Regions from separate parts of the Homo sapiens genome. Here regions 2, 3, 4 and 5 are each linked to region 1. The links are contacts of gene promoters, found by promoter capture Hi-C in blood cells and fetal thymus (Javierre and others, 2016). All regions are on one chromosome and are shown on one strand. The core of a region is centred on a gene start or on the middle of the fragment in contact, and the rest is flanking DNA. Distances in the headings are between cores, read along the strand shown.

Region 1 (2,613 bases), core at 1-2,500:
GACGGCCCTTGCAACGCGGAACGTTGGCAACTTGAAAACATAACTGAATTATTAAATACTGCAGTATTCAAATGACCTGCAGCGAGTGAAAACTCAGCAAACACCCTTGTTCCTTCTGAACAATGACCTAAATAGTGAATCACTATAAAAAGAACAGATGACACATTCAATTCATCTGTTCAACCTCAAATGTGCAAATGTCTGACAGTCCCAGAGATAAGACACAATGAATTCAATAGGACAGTATGGTCATTTTAAGTCATCAGAATGTCTGCAAAAGGAGTAAGGAGAAACAGAATCAGACAGAGGCGGAAAGAGTGGGGGAGGGCTTGTTTAGGGAGACTGAAAAGGACGGGCGTTAAGCCTGTAAAGCAGAAAAAGGCTACCAAGAAGCCTAACTGGTAGAGGAGAAAAAGAAGTTCGGGGATGATATTGACCAAATCCTCGACACTGGCACAGGAGGCGGGGAGTCCGGCAAGACCAGCCTTTGTTGATTTCCCACTTTCCCCGATTTTTAAGCACAGGTCTGCTTCAAAGCTCTCCCGCTGCCCCTAACCAATTTTAAGAGGTGAGAAGCGGGGTGTAACTGGGTGATGGGTACCAAAGGGAGTTCATTTCCCCAAATATTTCCTCCACCCAGGATATAAACCACTCTGAGAGGTAGGATGGGTGAGACAGACAGACGCCGGGATCTCTCGGAAATCAATCCCAATGGAGAAACGCTGGGTGGGTGCGCGCGGTGGGGGAGGGGGCCGGCTCCAGTTCCAAGTGCGGCCACTTACGAAGACGCGCTGGGCACGAAGAAATCCACGGCGAAGCCGAAGTAACTTCCCTCGGGGCCAGAGTACTCGGCAGGACTGTCCACGTCTAGGTTGAAGGCGCGGCACAGAGGTAGCAGGAGTCCCGAGAGAAGAAGCGGGAGGCCGCGGGGACCGAGGCGCAGCCGTCGCCGCGGCGGAAAAGCCATCGCCGAAGTGCGCGCGGGACGCCAAGCCGGGAGCGGTAGCCACCTCCCCCCGCCCCAGCGAGGCGCCCAGTGCCCGCGGCCCGCCGCCTGCGCGCGCCCAAACTTGCCGGCCGCTCTCTTCTCGGCTAGCCCGGGACAGCTCCGGGGCAGGCAAGAGGGCTGAGCTTCGGAGCGACCGCCAGGGACGAGGGGCGCAGAGCGCGCGGGGCGGGGACAGCAGCGCAGACGGTCCTTTGCTTCCCTCCGGCTCCGCCGCTCCACGCAGCGTCTGAGGCTGGGGACTGCCGGGGTGAGCGCCGCACCTCAGGCCTGAGAGCCGCGGCGGCACTGGGAGGAGACCTGGAAGGAGGAGGAGCCGGCCCGGGAGGCTGCTGTGGAGCTGGAGGAGGAAGTGGGGGAGGAGAGGCGCCCTTCTACAGGGGAGAGCTCAGCGTACTTCCGTGAGTGCAGTCGCCGCCTGTCCCGAGACCTGGGCGTCTGTGCAGGGGCCCCCAGCTCCTGAGCCTGGGTCAGCGGCAGCGCTCCTGGACGAAGGCCTCAGGCTGAGCACCTGAGGAGGCGTGGGGGCGGGGGCGGGGAGATACGGTCCAGCGTCCCAATCTACCCGCGTCCACGGGAGTAGCAAGGGCACCCACGTTCCCTTGTCCCGCCGGGAACTTCCGTGCGACTGTTGTTTAAAAATGAGGAAAGCTTTTTATCAGTTTCTCGTGTTTCTGCTGCTTAGCCTGGCAGGCTCTCACGAACGAAACCCTGTTAATTAATGGTCGTTAATTACACTCCATTCCACAAACACTGAACTTAATTACGGATTTCCAGAAAGCCAGCATAGCCTCTTGCAAGTGAGGTATGTAAAGCTTAACTTAGTAGTCAAAGAAAGGATTCGCAGGGCAAAGAATTGGCAGTGATCGTTTTAAATCAAGTCAGAATAATCGAAGCCTTATTCCCAGTTTGTTAGCTGCGGTTGTATGATTTAGAAACACTGATTTGTTGATTTAGGATGTTTGGATAGACATAATTTCAGAGCTGGAAGAAGGACCGCACACCGGTGAAATAAGGCCCCGCGTGCTTGTTTGCCACTGGTGTGTTTCATCAAGCCTTGACAACACTGGACTGAGAGAGAGGGCCTTGAGGACAGGAACCTTGACCTTTTTCTTAGTGTTCTTATTTCTAGCACCTTGCCAAGCAGATAGTAGTCGATCAATAAAATGTCCAATCAGTGAATGAATAGCAGACGAAATGAGCAAAGTGCCCAGAGAAGTGACTCTTCCATATTTCAAGTGTTTCATGTGCTACAGAATCTGTTGAACAAGGTGAAGTTTAAGTGCATTGTGTGGACTTACAACTTACAAGTAAGTACTGGAACAGTAATTTCTGTTTTCCCAAAGTAACTATTAAAACTCAATCATAATATACATTAATAACTATCAAATAATCCTGTGAAAGGATATGTATATAAATGAAAGTGAAATGCCTAATTCGAATTTGTAATATTTATTGGACCAGGTCCAGGTGCTCATGCTGGCAATCTCAGCACTTTGGGAGACTGAGGCAGGAGGATTGCTTGAGACCGGGAGTTCCAGGGGAACATAGGGAGACCTCATCTCTACAAAAATTTAAAAATTAGCTGGGAGTGTGGTGCATGCCTG
Region 2 (2,613 bases), core at 69-2,568, 3.8 Mb before region 1:
TATTACATATTTTAGTCAACTGTATGTCCACCCACCCTTCACATTCATCTATACTTAAGAGGTTAGATTTCTAGAAAATCATGGACTTCTAGAAGGATTAGGGGAAATTTTGGCCACTATAATATCCAACCATCCTCTTTTCCATGTGAGAAAACTGGGGCTCAGGAAGATGTGACATGCCCAAGCACACACATCTATTTAAATACCAGTTGGGATTAGAACCCCAACTCTTTAAGTCTTTTGCACACTAATAAGCAAGGTATTATATGTTCCAGTAGTTCTGTGAGGTGCTTATTCAATCTTTTTGGGATGAAAAGAAACGTCCGTGGTTGCGAATGCATAAAGGTAATTAACCCACCTGTCTGTCCATGTGGGGATGGGATTAACGAGGGGGAAAGTTGCGTTTGTATTTTTCCACCATCTTACCTAAATTTGCAGGAAAATTGCTCTATGGGCAATAAATATGACCCAGAAAGACTAGCAACCCCCAGTAGTATCTCAAAAGGGCTCCAGAGACATGTTAGACCAAGTGGAAGTAAAGCACGAGGTGGGGGATGTCTGCTAGGATGGTGGCTGGCAGAGCAGAGGTATTTTTTTTTCCGTATTTATTAACCTGGGAGGGCAGACGTTGTCAATTTCCTCCTCCTGCCACACAAGTGGCCGCGTCCTTGTCACTGGGGCTGTGTGGAGGTTCTCACCTCCTCCTTTTTCCCAGGGATGTTTATGGCGAGGGCGCGGGTCGGCCCGGGCGGAGGAGGACCCGGGCATCGGCGCTCACCCTCCGTCCCCACCCGCGGCAGCAGCTGTGGGCGCCCGGCGAGGGCTCCCTGGGCAGCGCCTTTGTTTTCCCGACTCCAGTTACGTTTGCGGAAGTGCTGCCAGCACGGGGCGCGCTGGGGGCGCAGGCGGCAGCCTCCCCCAGCACCCCACAAAGATGACACCCGACACGGAAGCCGGGGGAGGGAGGGAGGGAGGGAGCGGCGGGCGAGCGAGGCCCGAGCGGAGACAGCGGCGCACGCTGGGCTCCGAGCCCCGGCCCCGAAGCCCCTTTCCCGGCAGCAGGTGTGCGCGGCTGAGGTGCCTACCCGCCCTCCGGCTGGGCCCGTGCGGGGCGGGGGAGGCCAGGGCGGGTCTGCGAGCCCCTTCTCCGCAAGCCGGGCCCGACTCACCTGCTGCGGCGGCGGCAGCGCTCAGCTGCGCGGGGCGCGGGGAGCCCTGTCCCCGGAGCACGGGGCGGCGGCTCGGGGCGCCGGGGCGGCGGCTGTCGGGGCAGCGCGCACCATCCCGGGCTGCTCGCGCGCTCCTCCGGGGCTGCGACGGGCTGGGCGGGGCGCGGCGAGGCGAGGCGAGGGATGCGGACCGGGTGGGGCCACGGAGGACGGAGGCGGAGGGCCCAGCGCTCCCGCCGGCGCGACCTTCTCTCCCGCTGCGGCTCCTCCTCCTCCCCGGCCCCGGCCTCACAGTCGCCGCCGCCGGTCACTACCGGCTGGACCCGTTTCAGGGCCGGGCGCTGAGGACCGGCCGCCAGGTGCAGCGCTCCGCCTCCTGCGGCGGCGGCGGATGCGTCGACTGCCCGCTCCCGGCCTCCAGCCCGCCCCGGCGGCCCGGAGGGACACCTGAACCCAGCCGGGCCCGGGGAGCACGCTGAGGAGGCGAAAGCACTGGGCGAGGCTCCATCCCTACCGCACCCTCCACCCCCCCGCACCCCCAAGCGACTTCCGCTGAGCCCCCAGGCAATGAGTGCGGGCCAGGAAATGTGGGGGAAAATGTACTAACATCCCTTATTCCTTGAGCGCCTTTTAAGTGGCACACACAATGCTAATGCTGTCAGTGCGTTATCTCCGCGTCTGTCCCAGGTTGACCCGGGAGGGAGGAGCCGGCGGGGTGCGGGAGACAAACGATCTGTGAGTTTCGGGGCTCACCAAGAAGGGGGAACACTGAGACGAAGGCACCCTTTTTCAGGAAGCTGCTACTGGCATCTTGCTGAAAAGCCAACCGTGTGTGTCGCACTAAGAATATAATTAAAGTTGTATTTCTAGTTAAACACGCAGAGAGTTGGGGGAGAGTGGAGTATTCACTTGGCAAGTATGTCTGTGTGCCTGTGATGGGCTTTGGGGGATGCCACATCCTGTTCTTAAGGAGTTTATTGTCTTGTTCTGGCAACAACGACAAGAGTGACAATGGTAGCTAACGGCAACAACGACAAGAGTGACAATGGTAGCTAACGCTTATAAACATCGATTATGTACGGGGCACTGTGTAGGTACTCTTTGAGCCTTATAACCCTATAGGTGTAGGAAACGTTATTCCCATTTTACAACTGAGGAAAGCCGAGGCTGAAAGTTAATGTGACCCATCCAAAGTTACTAAACAGCGAAAGGGAAAGCAGGCTTCTTTTGTCTCCAGGCTTTAAGCTCTTAACCGTGAAATCATACTGGTAAGAATTTGATAGGCCCTGAAGTTTCTGAATTTTGAGTCCCTCTTTAGGAAGAATAAAACAATTACAAATACGAAGTTTCTAGGGCCCCTTCCTGAGCTTATGAAGGGTCTCTGAAGCTTAAACTATAGTAGCCTCATGCTAAATCCACTTTCAATATTGACGTAGATATTCAA
Region 3 (2,613 bases), core at 114-2,613, 3.5 Mb after region 1:
TAAAGCTTAGTGTATGGATATCTTTGGGGAGTAGTCAGCCCACAACACAGGGCAATCCACTTTTTAGAATTAAGCTACCAAGAAAGGTATATCAATGTATAAATTTCTACACACATTGAGGCTAGATGTGGTGGCTCACACCTGCAATCCCAGCACCTTGGGAGGCTGAGGGGTTGATCACTTGAGTCCAGGAGTTTGAGATAGTGAGACCCCACTTCTCTACAAAATAAAAAAGAAATTTCTATACAAATTATGATCTAGCCAAACAAAAGAACACTATACAACAACTAAAATGAATTAGATGGATTTGATATGAGTGTAAATATTAACCTAGAAAGACCTCTGTGATAGATATAATGAAAAAAAGTAATTTGAAAACATGCATGCATATACGGCACCATTTTTATTTAATAACGGGTTTATTTAGGAACAGATGCAGAGAAAGAGAAAAGAGTGATACTTCTTTAAATAAAAGAAGATGTTGAAAAAGATTTGCACCAGCCGGGCATGGTGGCTCATGCCTGTAATCCCAGCACTTTGGGAGGCCAAGGCGGGCGGATCACGAGGTCAGGAGTTCCAGACCAGCCTGGCCAACATGGTGAAACCCCATCTCTACTAAAAAATACAAAAATTATCCGGGCATGGTGGCACATGCCTGTAATCCCAGCTACTTGGGAGGCTGAGGCAGGAGAATCGCTTGAACCCAGGAGGTGGAGGTTGCAGTGAGCCAAGACCATGCCACTGCACTCCAGCCTGGCGACAGAGCGAGACTCTGTGTCCAAAAAAAAAAAAGAAAAGAAAAAGAAAAAGATTTGCACCAAACTATTAACAGTAAAGTAGAAAAGGGTTTGTAAATTGGAGGATTTAAGAATGGCCTTTACACATGTATACATATGTAACAAACCTGCACGTTGTGCACATGTACCCTAGAACTTAAAGTATAATAATAATAATAATAAAAAGAATGGCCTTTAACTTATTTTATACAATTTTGTGGTTGATGACAGGTGTTATTGCTATTTTATTTATTTATTTATTTATTTTGAGATGTAGTCTCGCTCTGTCACCAGGCTGGAGTGCAGTGACACGATCTCAGCTCTGGCACTCCACTGCAACCTCCACTGATTCCCCTGCCTCAGTCTCCCGAGTAGCTGGGAGTACAGGCGCATGCCACCACACCCAACTCATTTTTTTTTTTGAATTTTAGTACAGACAGGGTTTTACCATGTTGGCCAGGATGGTCTCGATCTCCTGACCTCATGATCCACCTGCCTCAGCCTCCCAAAGAGCTGGGATTACAGGTGTGAGCCACCGCGCCCAGCCCTATTTTCTTTACTTTTTAAATTAAAAACTTTTTTCCATTAAGACATTTATTTTCTTTTCTTTACCTGCATTTCAATCTTTTACCCTTTCAACAGGCTCTTTCCTTACCAAGCTATAAAGAAGCCCAGAATTGAAACCCTCCCTAGGCCTTGCTCCTCCACCTACCTACCATGTGCTAATTTCTCTCTCATTTCATTTTTTCAAAATCTCAAAAGAAGTGTCTATAGATTTTAGTAAATTATCTGTTTCCCTATCTTTACTATTTTGATTTTTAATTAATTGCAGATTGGCTCCTGTGTAATGCTCTTCCGAAATAAAACTACTGACCCCAACTATTTTTTTTTTCTAATTGCCAAATTAGACCTGCCTCCTTGACATCTGCAGTATCCAACAGCTTTGACAATCTTTTCCTAAGTACAAGTGTTTTCTTTATTTTTGGTGATGCTACACTTCCTATTTCTCATAACTTCCTACTCCTTTTCTGGTTTTTCAATAATTGATCCCATTTTTTTTCTAACCTGGGAATATTATTGATGTTCAAGCCTTTGCTCTCTCCTTTCTTTTTCAACTCTTAGTGGTCTCCCTTGGAATCCTTATCATTGTCACCCTGTGCAAATAATTTTTAATAATCTATACCCAACATCTCTAAAGCCAAATGCCACTTTTCCAGATGCTTGCTGCACAACCTACCCGTACATCAAACCTCAAAAGCAAGCTCATCTTTTGTCTTTTTCTTTCCATCTCTTAGAAACTCAAAATTGAATTCATAGTGCATTAGCAGAATTTAGAGTCAGACGAACCTCAATTCAGAGCCCAACTCTCTCACTAAAACCTATATAACTTGGATTTGTATTTGATTTCTAGATTATATTGTTTGTAAAATAGAAACAATACCTACTTTGAAAAATGGTTATTCTTAGTACAGTGTCTGCTCCACTTTGTTTTTTCTGACATTCACCTTCTCTACCATCAAACATTGAGATATTCTTTCTGCCTCTTCAATTCCTATACAATTGCAGTCAACTCCTTACATCTCCCTGCCTTCAGTTTCTCCCACCAAGCCTAACACACCAGTAGCCAAAACTTTCTTTTTTTTTTTTTTTTTTGAGACGGAGTCTCACTCTGTCATCCAGGCTGGAGTACAGTGGAGCGATCTCAGGTTACTGCAACATCTGCCTCCCGTGTTCAAGAAATTCTCCTGCCTCAGGCTCCCGAGTAGCTGGGATTACAGGTGTACACCGCCACACCCGGCTACTTTTTGTATTTTTAGTAGAGACAGGGTTTTGCCAT
Region 4 (2,613 bases), core at 61-2,560, 3.4 Mb after region 1:
AAAATAAGAATGTAAGAATGTTGATAAGGCTGCAGAGGGAACCCTTATATGCTGTTGGTGGGAGTGTAAATTAGTTCAGCCTCAACAGAAAGCGGTTTGGAGATTTGTAGAACTCAAAATAGCAGTACTATTTGAACATCTTGTTGTCTAGTAAGGTCTAGAATAGTGTTCTGGATAAAATATATTCTTCAATAAGCTTAATAGATGTGAGGTGATCTGAAAAATATTTTTCCTAAAGGAAAGTGTACATTAATAGGTTAAATTAGATTAGTTCTAGTTTCTAAATTTGAATTCAAAGGAGTCTAGGAACTCAAATTGTTTAGCAACCCTAAAGAAGTAAGATTTTTGAAATACTTTTTTTTTTGAGACAGAGTCTCACTCTATTGCCCAGGCTGGAGTGCAGTGGCACGATCTCAGCCCACTGCAACCTCCGCCTCCTGGGTTCAAGCGTTTCTCCTGTCTCAGCTTCTGGAGTAGTTGGGATTACAGGTGTGTGCCACCACACCCAGTTAATTTTTGTATTTTTAATAGAGACGAGGTTTCACCAGGTTGGCCAGGCTGGTCTCGAACTCCTGACCTCAGGTGATCCACCTGCCTTGGCCTCCCAAAGTGCTGCAATTCCAAGCGTGAGCTACCATGCACAGCAGATTTTTGAAATTCTTAAGTGATTATATTTTTTCTTTTCAGTTAGAATGATATTATTGCATTGTAGTTTTTACTTGATAACTCTTTTGATCCTGTCCAGGCTGTAGTTTTGTTTTGATATCATTTGGAGGCAAGACATGGACATCATTCCTAGAAGTCTGTTAGACTTGACTTTATAAATTAATATTTGTGCTGTAATTGAAGTTATGTATTACTAACAACAGTTAACTTTTTAAAGTTCTTGTCTATTGTCCCATTTTATTGTTGGAGTAACACCTAAGTCTTGTGTTAAGGTTCATTATAGATGTAATAACTAAGTAATATTTATTAAACTTTTAAAAATTCTCTTTCAGGTAATCTTCAACTATACTGGATAGCTTTTTATTTGTACAAATGTATGGGGTACATGTGGAGGAATACTAAAGTACATCATCCTATAATACATTTAACAATTTACTTCCCTCATCACCACAGAAGCATTTAATAGGTATAGGCTGAGTATCCCAAATCTGTAAATACAAAATCCAAAATGTTCCAAAACGTGTAACTTTTGGAGCACCAGCATAACACTCAAAGGAAATTTCAGATTTTCAATGCTCAACTGATAAGTATAATGCAAATATTCCAAAATCTGAAACTCTTCTGGTCCTAAGCAGTTCTGCTAAGGGATATTCAACCTGTTCAATACATTTCTAAAATAAGTCTGATTTAGAATGAAACATCCCACTTTGACAAGTGCTGTTATATTTTTAAGAATCTACTTATCAACTAAGTTACCAACTATTGCTTTAGTAAGTGGAAGCATATATTTATACAAAAGATACTCTTAACTAATTTTAGTTACTACAAAGACATTCCATTAACAAACTGAAGACAGTAAAAGGCATTTAATCTGAAGCCAATCCAAATTTTCTACAGTCTACAAGTATTACCATTAAGAAGATAAAATTTAGTTATGCTACATCATGTAATAATCTTCAAGCAAGAAATTAAATGAAGGTTCGAATTGTGACAACCGTTACAACCTTTAAAAATAAAACAAATCAAAAATAAGTCTCAAACGAATAAGCAATCTAATTTTTGCCCTGTCAACTACTCTGAAAAATATAATTACTTATACATAATCTAAAACTATTTACATAACTTTAGCATAATTGCCCCCCACCTAGTTAATGTTTAATTGCTCCACTAATTTTACTTCCTTTCAATCAGACTTCTGATGCCCACATGCCATGCTTTGTAAGATGAAAATAAAGTGTGCCTATCAAACCACATCAAATCGGACTGCAATGTGTCTCCCTGAGTAAATCACTATTCAAACATTCTTCCTAAGACTGGATTAAAGCAGAGGGCAAAAGACCTTATTACCCTTTATGAAAATGTCTTCAATTAAAAGAAAGATTCAATTATTTCAAAATAGACCACTAACCTAAATGAAAACAAAAGAGATTAAAAGACTAGTAAATTTTAAATAGATACGAGCCAAATGAAACTTGGAAAAAAGAGGTTCCTGGCGGTGTTAACTTCTTATCATGAAACAAAGTAGCACAATATGTAATAAGGGATTTGGTCTCTGCTCAACAAGAGGAGGAAGACTGGAGACTGAACTCAACCACCTGATTGGTAATTCAATCATGCCTATGTAATGAAACTCCAATAAAAACTGTGGACATAGATGCTCCAGTGAGCTTCCCTAGTTGGTAGTACTCCATGTATATTGCCATACATTGACGCTGGGAGGATAACACATCTCCCTGAAGACAATGGAAAGGAAGCTTCACATTTGGAACCCTTTCCAACGTCACCCTATGTGTCTTCCTTTGGCTGGCTCTAATTTGTTTCTTTTTGCTGTAATAAAACTGTAACCATGAGCACAGCACTTTCAGTGAGGTTGTGAGTCTTTCTAGTAAACTACCAAACATTACAAGCAGCCTTGGTAACCTCTTAATTTATAGACAGCTGGTCTAA
Region 5 (2,613 bases), core at 52-2,551, 3.2 Mb before region 1:
ACTTCTAATCCTAGCTTTGCTTTTCCTAGTTGTGTGACCTCCAAAGCACCCAAACTCTGTGGCCCAGTTGCCTGTAAAATGAGGACAGAAACTATTTCATGGGATTTTGAAAGAAATTAATCTACAGCAGGTGCCTGGTACATAGTGCCACTTTATCATTATTGTTACACATAAATGAAATTTTTGAAAAACATAAGTTCCAAATAAAAAACCTCAACCATATTCTGGTAATTATTTACTTATTTATCTGTATCCACCTCTAGACTGTACTCTGTGGCTTCCCAACATGTTGTTATGGGATTTACTCATCTTTTATACCCAGAGCTTCACAACGTGCAAAGTGCAGGTATATATGCCAGCCCTGTACAACAGTGGATTCTAAGGTCCTTGCTTACTAAAATCTTAAATACCAGCAGGGGAAAAGCCTGACTCTTGGAATAAATCTGTCCAATGTTCAAAACAAAGTTCACAAACCAATAAAAGAAAAAAAAAAAAAAAAGCAGGTGCAAGACTTTGAAAACATACCATGCTGAATTTCATGTACATAGTAAGGAAGGACAACATAATGCATTATGAAAATAGGATGGTTTAAGGCAACTGAATATTTACCACAGCCTTTTTTTTTTTTTTTTTTTTTTTTTTGAGACAGAGTCTCGCTCTGTAGCTCAGGCTGGAGTGCAGTGGCGCGATCTCGGCTCACTGCTACCTCCGCCTCCCGGGTCCCAGTTCAAGCAGTTCTCCTGCCTCAGTCTCCCGATTTTTTTTTTTTTTAATTGTAAAAATAAGCCAGCCCCTTTCTTCCTAGTGAAGTGGGAGAAACGGTTTACACTGTCCGATGAGAAACACTTCCGTTCTTTGGTAACCCTGCTAGGGGGCGCCGCTAGATTCCATCCTATTTCTCCGATGAAAGTATCAGGTACCTCACCCCTAAGTTTAGATTTGATGATAGTTCCCTTAAAAATGAATGACGAATAATCTACCCCATCCTTTTCTCACAGTAGCAACCAAATTCCAGCCAAGGGCAAAAAAAAAATTTCTTTTTAATGTAGCTTAGTGTTTGGAACTTGATGTTGTGTAGTCAGACAAACCTGTATTCGGCCTCCGCTGGATCAGTCACTAGCTGTGTAATTTTACAGAACTCTCATCACCTGCAAATCTGGGGGAAATGCAGGTGCGCACAGAGAGCGTTTTGGGCAAAGACGGCCTTTAAGCTTTTCTTCACTAAGCATGCCGCTCGCTAGCGGAACAGCAGCCAGCTCTGGACGGGACCTTGCACAGTTCCGATGACATCACTTCCGGGCGCCAGGTTCGGGCTTTCTCCTGCAGCGATAAGGGCAGTCGACAGTCTTTAGTAGGGAAAGGAGACAAGTGCTAGCTACTGCCGCCCAAGTGGAAGGTGGGTGAAATTGCTCACTCTTCACCCCACTGACGCTTTTGCGCACCTGGAAAAGCGGTTCCAGTTTGCGCCCGTCGCCGCCTTACAGCCGACAGGAGACCAGCGCTACCCAAGTCACGTGGGTTCAGCCTGCAGCTTTCTTGGCCCGAAAGGGTAGTGCTTCGTACAATCCTCCTTGTCCAGATTTTGTTAATGCAAATCTAATTCCTCTAGGTTGTGTCTGTCTGGGCTGCACTGCCCGCAACTGCCTTCTGCAAATAGGTCGCTCATCTCTAATCCCTGGGATGCCGTGTCCCTTTAGTGTGGTGGAGAAAGGCCCTGCTTTAACACCCAGAAAGTTTTAGAACGGATGATCTGGGGGCATAAAATTAGGTGCTTCGCAGTGTGAAAATACTAGTGTGCTTTAGTGATGGGCTGCTATTATTTTGGGGGAAAAGGATTTGGGAAGATCCTTGTTATGACAAAACCTGTAGCAAAAAGTGGAGATTTAATTCCAAAGATTGCAATTAAGGATAAAATAGGTGTTAGGTTGCAGTTGGCGTGTGTGTGTTTATGTTAACTCTTGTTTTTGAACCAAATGATCCAGTTTTATTTTGAAAGATGTTTTTAGGAGATGGAATACATTAACAGTATTTTTATCTGTTCCATCTGCCTTTGTTGTTTGATTCTTTTTAGAAAATCCACATTTTGTCTTAATTTTAGCTGTCAAAAAATAAATAGCACTTTTCAGAGGACTCTATCAATTATTGTACTTTATATTAGCTGTCTTAATAGTAAGTCTTTTGGTAGGAACAGCATGCAAGTAATAATAATACTAAAAAATTTTATATCTGACCCCTGTTTTCCCCCTTGGAGAACATTATATTCATTCATAATATTATTTATATTCCCATGTTGCTATAGCCTTTACAAACTTTTGGTGACTTTTACAAACTTTCCTGTAATTCTGTAAAACTATATATTGAAAAATAAGCTGGCTAATGTCAGTTGCAAATAATAAGTTGTTTCTGTAATTCTTTTTCAGGAATTATCTATAGAGTAAGTATGCTAATCTTGACTAAGACTGCAGGAGTTTTTTTTAAACCATCAAAAAGGAAAGTTTATGAATTTTTAAGAAGTTTTAATTTTCATCCTGGAACACTATTTCTTCATAAAATAGTATTGGGAATTGAAACTAGTTGTGATGATACAGCAGCTGCTGTGGTGGATGAAACTGG

The links. The method cuts DNA at HindIII sites, captures the fragments that hold promoters and counts their contacts. A CHiCAGO score of 5 or more calls a contact.
Region 2: the fragment with the promoter of MFSD6 here is called in contact with the fragment with the promoter of ITGAV in region 1 in 2 of 17 cell types (M0 macrophages and non-activated CD4 T cells); the score reaches 9.8 in M0 macrophages.
Region 3: a contact is called between a fragment that was not itself captured here and the fragment with the promoter of ITGAV in region 1, in 1 of 17 cell types (activated CD4 T cells). The highest score is 6.2, in activated CD4 T cells.
Region 4: a contact is called between a fragment that was not itself captured here and the fragment with the promoter of ITGAV in region 1, in 2 of 17 cell types (total CD4 T cells and non-activated CD4 T cells). The highest score is 8.6, in total CD4 T cells.
Region 5: a contact is called between the fragment with the promoter of OSGEPL1-AS1 here and the fragment with the promoter of ITGAV in region 1, in 1 of 17 cell types (M0 macrophages). The highest score is 6.1, in M0 macrophages.

Annotation. Positions count from the first base shown.
Region 1 is chr2:186,588,693-186,591,305 of GRCh38, reverse strand. ITGAV (integrin subunit alpha V) reads right to left here and starts at 1,250. Exons shown (of 30, transcript NM_002210.5): 1 at 783-1,250. The coding sequence starts at 967. It overlaps LOC124906105 (a long non-coding RNA gene), which reads left to right and starts at 1,410. Exons shown (of 2, transcript XR_007087465.1): 1 at 1,410-2,316. RefSeq lists an enhancer at 768-827 and a silencer at 958-1,187. The HindIII fragment of the contact is 2,158 bases long and covers 1-1,659 here.
Region 2 is chr2:190,407,060-190,409,672 of GRCh38, reverse strand. MFSD6 (major facilitator superfamily domain containing 6) reads right to left here and starts at 1,318. Exons shown (of 8, transcript NM_017694.4): 1 at 1,170-1,318. RefSeq lists a silencer at 698-1,737 and an enhancer at 1,998-2,047. The HindIII fragment of the contact is 2,674 bases long and covers 1-2,558 here.
Region 3 is chr2:183,120,262-183,122,874 of GRCh38, reverse strand. It overlaps a transcript of NUP35 not described here. Among named protein-coding and RNA genes, the nearest start is that of NUP35, 2.9 kb to the left of the region's middle. The HindIII fragment of the contact is 2,711 bases long and covers 8-2,613 here.
Region 4 is chr2:183,143,987-183,146,599 of GRCh38, reverse strand. All of the region lies in intron 4 of NUP35 (nucleoporin 35), which reads right to left. Among named protein-coding and RNA genes, the nearest start is that of NUP35, 21 kb to the right of the region's middle. The HindIII fragment of the contact is 2,224 bases long and covers 199-2,422 here.
Region 5 is chr2:189,761,468-189,764,080 of GRCh38, reverse strand. OSGEPL1-AS1 (OSGEPL1 antisense RNA 1) reads right to left here and starts at 1,301. Exons shown (of 2, transcript NR_102429.1): 1 at 1,089-1,301. OSGEPL1 (O-sialoglycoprotein endopeptidase like 1) reads left to right here and starts at 1,289. Exons shown (of 9, transcript NM_022353.3): 1 at 1,289-1,396; 2 at 2,421-2,613. The coding sequence starts at 2,441. It also overlaps a transcript of ANKAR not described here and a transcript of ORMDL1 not described here. RefSeq lists enhancers at 614-1,360, 1,647-1,806. The HindIII fragment of the contact is 3,776 bases long and covers 1,214-2,613 here.